Linked DNA regions of Homo sapiens: region 1 is linked to region 2. The links are contacts of gene promoters, found by promoter capture Hi-C in human tissues and cell types (Jung and others, 2019). All regions are on one chromosome and are shown on one strand. Each heading gives the region's core, a stretch centred on a gene start or on the middle of the fragment in contact. The rest is flanking DNA. Distances are from core to core; before and after follow the strand shown. Region 1 overlaps ABL1 (ABL proto-oncogene 1, non-receptor tyrosine kinase). Region 2 holds the start of FUBP3 (far upstream element binding protein 3).

The links. Contacts are between HindIII fragments. The study calls those that stand out against the background at their distance.
Region 1: a contact is called between a fragment that was not itself captured here and the fragment with the promoter of FUBP3 in region 2, in 4 of the 25 tissues and cell types used here (IMR-90 fibroblasts, aorta, lymphoblastoid cells and 1 more).

Annotation. Positions count from the first base shown.
Region 1 is chr9:130,862,942-130,865,641 of GRCh38, reverse strand. ABL1 (ABL proto-oncogene 1, non-receptor tyrosine kinase) reads right to left here. Exons shown (of 11, transcript NM_005157.6): 4 at 2,607-2,700. Among named protein-coding and RNA genes, the nearest start is that of ABL1, 29 kb to the right of the region's middle. RefSeq lists enhancers at 2,154-2,654, 2,655-2,700. The HindIII fragment of the contact is 6,876 bases long and covers 1-2,700 here.
Region 2 is chr9:130,578,207-130,580,906 of GRCh38, reverse strand. FUBP3 (far upstream element binding protein 3) reads right to left here and starts at 1,330. Exons shown (of 19, transcript NM_003934.2): 1 at 1,143-1,330. The coding sequence starts at 1,226. It overlaps LOC100272217 (a long non-coding RNA gene), which reads left to right and starts at 1,413. Exons shown (of 1, transcript NR_027440.1): 1 at 1,413-2,700. LOC124902286 (a long non-coding RNA gene) reads right to left here and starts at 1,067. Exons shown (of 2, transcript XR_007061818.1): 1 at 659-1,067; 2 at 1-248. RefSeq lists a silencer at 1,013-1,382. The HindIII fragment of the contact is 10,079 bases long and covers 1-2,700 here.

The sequences.
Region 1 (2,700 bases), core at 147-2,646, 280 kb before region 2:
CCCAAGTAGCTAGGAATACACACGCACCACCACGCCTGGCTGATTTTTGGTATTTTTTGTAGAGGCAGAGTTTTGCCATGTTGCCCAGGCTGGTCTTTAACTCCTGGGCTCAAGCAATCCACCAGCCTTGGCCTTCCAAAGTGCTGGGATTACAGGCGTAAGCCACCGTGCCTGGCAATTTCAGCTTCTATAGCAAAGGTAAATGCCCCATATTTACACTAATCTTATTTGACAAATAGGCAACATACTGCAGGGATGTTTCTGCGCACGGCCAGGAGGAAGGAGGGCTAATTTATTTAGCAGTTGCTTAGTACCGTATTTTCAGTTAACACACTTCCAGAAAGGGACATACTGCCTTTTCCCTAATTAGATACCACTCCGGGTGACTGCCCACAGAAATCCACGCAATGACATCCTGTAATTCTTTACCAACTGTGAGATCGTAAGTTAATTAGGCTCTTGGGAAAAATTATTAGAAGTATAATTAAAAGCAGAGTAACACATTATTAGTAAAGCACATTCTGAAAGGCACCCACTTTAGATTCAGTGATATAAGAAACCCACCCCACAAACCACACAGGTCTCCAGCAGGTACCCTTCTCTGGAGTCTCCTCCTTCAGTTGTTCAGAAAACAATGCCACAGCACCATCTACTGAAGTAGCGTTTCCTCAAATGTCAAGTTGTACAACCCGATCTTGGAAGTTTTCAGACAAGCTTTTACTGGTTGAAATCTAGGGTATTTTGCGCTTGGAATCTTCCTTCATTTGACAAATCCTGGTGAAAGTGTGCTGAAATCTAGGCCATTCTCAGTTTGCTGAGCTGGTCAAGGCCCCATTTCTTGGGTCTGGTCTTCAACCCTGTGCAACCCAAGGAGCTGGGGCACCTGCACAGCTCCCCCGTCCCTCCTTCGTTCACCCCCTGGTGGTGTCCCGAGGACTGCTGCGCTGCAATCCTTCTTCCTCCTACTACCTGGACCACCCTATGTCTCAGATGAAGAACTCTGTCCCATTCATTTTCTAATCCAGTGTTGAGCCCAGGAACCGTCAAATAGAAGTGAAGAACTTGATAAATATTTATTCAATTAAGAAAAAGTCCAGGGCCGGGTGTGGTGGCTCATGCCTATAATCCCAGCACTCTGGGAGGCTGAGGTAGGCAGATCACTTGAGGTCAGGAGTTTGAGACCAGCCAGGCCAACACAGCGAAACCCCATCTCTACTAAAAATACAAAAATTAGCTGGGTGTGGTGGCGGGTGCCTGTAATCCCAGCTACTCGTGAGGCTGAGGAAGGAGAATCGCCAATTTGGGGAGGCGGAGGTTGCAGTGAGCTGAGATCATGCCACTGCACTCCAGCCTAGGCAACAGAGTAAGACTCCGTCTCAAAAAAAGAAAAGAAAAAGTCCTATCTGAGAAATATCCAGGGTCCTTAAGGTAACCCCAAACCATGCCCCCACCCCAGTGCCAGTCCTGCCTCAAAGACAGGCACGTGCTGAATAAGAGCATCAGGAAGCCACCTTTGGTTTCTAGGACTAAAGAATGTGATCTTTTCTCTAAAGCAGCCACTTCATACCAGTCAGAAATCATACTTCCCATTTCACTATGCCTTTGGGTGAAGGCATCAGGTCAGTCAAGGAGTCCCTAAAAGGCAGGCATGTGGCTGCACCAGTCTCAATGTGTGCACCTGACTTCTGAGACACATGCACAAACTAAACTCTATTTTTCCCAGAGGTGGATGTTTCAGTTCTTTTCTAACAGCTCTAAAAAGGGGCTGCCTCTCTTGATTTCTGTGCACAGGTCAAGGTAATCAAAGTTCATTTAAAACAAGTGGAAATAATGTAAGTCAACACTAGGGGACACCCTCGCCACAGGGAAAAGCCTGGATCACATTTTGAAGAATGCAAAGGGCTGAAAATGAAAACTTCCTTCCCTTGGCGTCCTAAGGGTTTCAAAGAACTTCAAAAGAAGAAAAAAACCTGCCTGGAAACTACAAACACTATTCATTAGTGGAGAGGGTAAAGTCCCAGTTAACAAGAAAGACCAGACTGTATCTGAGTTGGTCAAAAGCGAGTTTCCTGGATGCCTTTCTAGCGGGGACACTTCCACCTCTGCCTGCAGGAGTCTGGGCAGCTGCAGAATTGGAACCCACTGGGGATGCCCAGGGCACCTGCCTTCCAAATCAGCCAACAAAAATCCACAGAAGAGTCAAATGCATTTTGGTTAAATCTTCTTTCAAAACTCAGAGATCTTTTTTTCCTCCTTAACTCTCGGTAGGAAGTGATCTCCATGCCGCACGAACAGCATGGAAATCCACGGCTTTAAAAGAACCTTGCCATAAAATGAGAAAACCTCTCCAAATGACTAATCTTTTTACACCAAAACCCCTCCATGCTTGTCAGCTCTCACCATATGTGGAAACACACTCGGACTATGAGAATGATTCCACTCCTACAAAGACACAGGAATGATATAAGACGGAAAAGTCAATTCCGTGGCGCCAATGAAGCCCTCGGACAGCAGGCAGGAGGTAGACTTCCAGGCAGATGCATCGCCTAATGCCAGCAGACGCCTTGCCCCACGTACCCTGGGCACCCCCGGCAGTCCCAGCCTACCTTCAAGGTCTTCACGGCCACCGTCAGGCTGTATTTCTTCCACACGCCCTCGTACACCTCCCCGTACTGGCCCCCGCCCAGCTTGTGCTTCATG
Region 2 (2,700 bases), core at 81-2,580:
TGTACTGGTTGGCAGCTAGGCAGTAAAGTAACAATTCATCAGATAAAATTTTAGGTGGAACCACAGGTTTGGAAAGTTCTGGGATCCAATATAATGTCTATAGGAGCATCAATATATAACATGAAAAGTCAGTTATCAGGGAAACAGGTAGGGTTCCCTCCCCTGGAATACTGGAAAGAGATGTAAAGACCATATCTTCAAGCGCCCGAGTGAAGACCTTCTTCTAATACAATGACTCCTGTGGCTTTCTGTTAGGAATCAAGCAGTAATTAGTTATAGCCCAACTTTTAAAGTATCAGTGCGCTTACAATTACATAAGAAGAGAGGAGGACATAAGACACTTAACCGAGGAAGCTGAAGTGTTAGGGCTGACTTGTAAGTAAGTTTTAGATACAAATGAAGAACACGTTCTGTTCTAAGTACCATGCCAGAAGCCAGTAAGTATTTTTGGCAGGTCCCATATTCACTCTCTGGGGAAGCCTGGAGCCTTCTAAAACCCAGTTAATTTAACTTTGATTAAATGCACGACATTGTCAGACAGTAAAGTTTCAATGTCGGAATGAGGCCATATCATTCTCCCCAGTAGAGGCAAGCTTGCCATGAGAAATTTCTACATCTTGGGGACCACCCCCACACATGTAACACCTCCCTCTCTCACCTCTCCAAAGAGCACCCTCACATATAAGATGCCCTCGAGTTCCTTCTACTCAACAGAAAGTCTAAAGACGATGTTCCCCAAGTTTTAACAAGCTACTGGGCGTCAGACAGCTGCTTTATGTCTACACCCAGATCCTCCCCGTGGGCTTCCCGGACCCCTCCCCTCGCGAGGTTCAGAACCCCGCGCTAGCTACACTGTGGGTCCAGGCTGGCCGCTGGGGCACGATGGGGCCAGACGCTCTAAGCAAACCCTTTCCCAGCGACTTCAGGCACCTGGGAGACCCGCCCGACAGGCCGGGCCTGGGCCTCGCAGTGGCGCCTTATCCCCCCGGCTCCTCCCGGCTGTAGGAACTCCACGGAACGGCCCGGCCCGGCTGAGACGTCGGTTCAGGCTGCCTCCCGCCCCCCAGGCCCGAACCCCTCTTCCCCGCCCGCCAGGCCCCGCCTCGGGATCTCGTGCTCCTGCCAGCCGGCTGCGCCCGTACCTGCCGGACCCGGTGCAGGGCATCCACGAAGCCCTCGGCCTTCATCCCCACAGGAGCGCTCTGCCCCTGCACCAGCTCCGCCATTACCGCCCCCGCCGCCGTCGCCGCCGCCGCCGACGCCGCCGACGCCGCCGCTCGGCTCCCCGGTCCGGCCTCCCGCTCCGCTTGGGGACCCGTAGCCGGAAAAGGAAAGTCGCCCTACTTCCGGCGGAAGGGAAAGCCGGGACGCTCGCAGCTGGAGGAGTCGCGTCTGCGGGGCGGGGTCAGGGCACGTGACCTTCGACCGATCGGAAGTGGGGGCGGGACGGCAGCGCCGGGGTGGGCTCAGATCGCCAGGCAGCCGTGGGTCTCCAGGGTCCGGTCGCGACCCTTCCCTTCCCGGGCGGGATTTGGTCCAGGACCGTCGATGGCGTCTTGACAGGTCCCCGAGGCTTGGATGTGGTCCCGAGGTGTCCGCTGTCGGCCGTTTGGAATCTCAGAGGGACTGACGTGGCTCTCCCAAGACGGCACCCCGAACAGTCGTGGTTCATCAAAAGCCTGGTCCTGGGTAGCCCCTCCCTGAAATGGCTGTTGGTTGGGAATTTGGGGGCTGAGCGCTTTGAAAGGGCATTGGGACAGCATCACAGAATGTCAGTGTCCCACATTTGCGAGGAGTCCCGGGCCCCAGTTCTTACACTGCAGTTTGCATGAGGATGGGCCACCGCCACTTCCGCCTGGGGTTGTCTGGTGATGCCCCCAGGAGAGACGCGCCCACTGAAAAGCCAGCGTGGTGTCCTCTTACACGGTCCTTAACAAACTCTGGGACTCTGGGGGTGCAGGAAATACCACAGGACCGTCATTACTCCCATACCGGCTGAGTCACAACTGTATTGCAGGAGGCTTCTTGGAACGCCTATGTAACTTTAATGGAAGTGACCAGGTACAGATCTTCTACAGCAAGGAAGGAATCTTAGTGCTAGAATTCAGTTGAGCCTTTGAGTTGGCTCTTCTTATAAGTGAGCAAACAAGTAACAAGGTTTAGGGGGCGCCCATTTTTGTGTTAGCACGATTGCCCTCGTGTTTAATATTTCCCAAGCCCTATTATGATAAGGAGTTGGACTTAATGAAGAACCATGTTGTCAAACATCTTATGCCCATCTTGAAGTTGTGAAGGAGGATGAGCACCAAGAAAAGGAAATAAATAAAATCCAATACGGGCCGGGTGCGGTAGCTCACGCCTGTAATCTTAGCAGTTTGGGAGGCCAAGGCAGGCAGAACTCTTGAGCCCAGAAATTCAAGACCAGCCTAGGCAGCATAGTGAGACCCCGTCTCTACAAAAAATATAATTAGCTGGGCGTGGTGGCAAACACCTGTAGTCCCAGCTACTTGGGAGGCTGGAGTGGGAGGATCACCTGAGCCCTGGAGGTCAAGGCTGCAGTGAGCTATGATCACGCCACTGCAGTACAGCGTGGGTGACAGAGCAAGACCCTTTCTTGGGGAAAAAAGTCCCATATAACTTTCCTTGATGACCCCACCCTCACCCCTCACTGTGTCATTATGCCAAGAGAGCTTTGGGCAT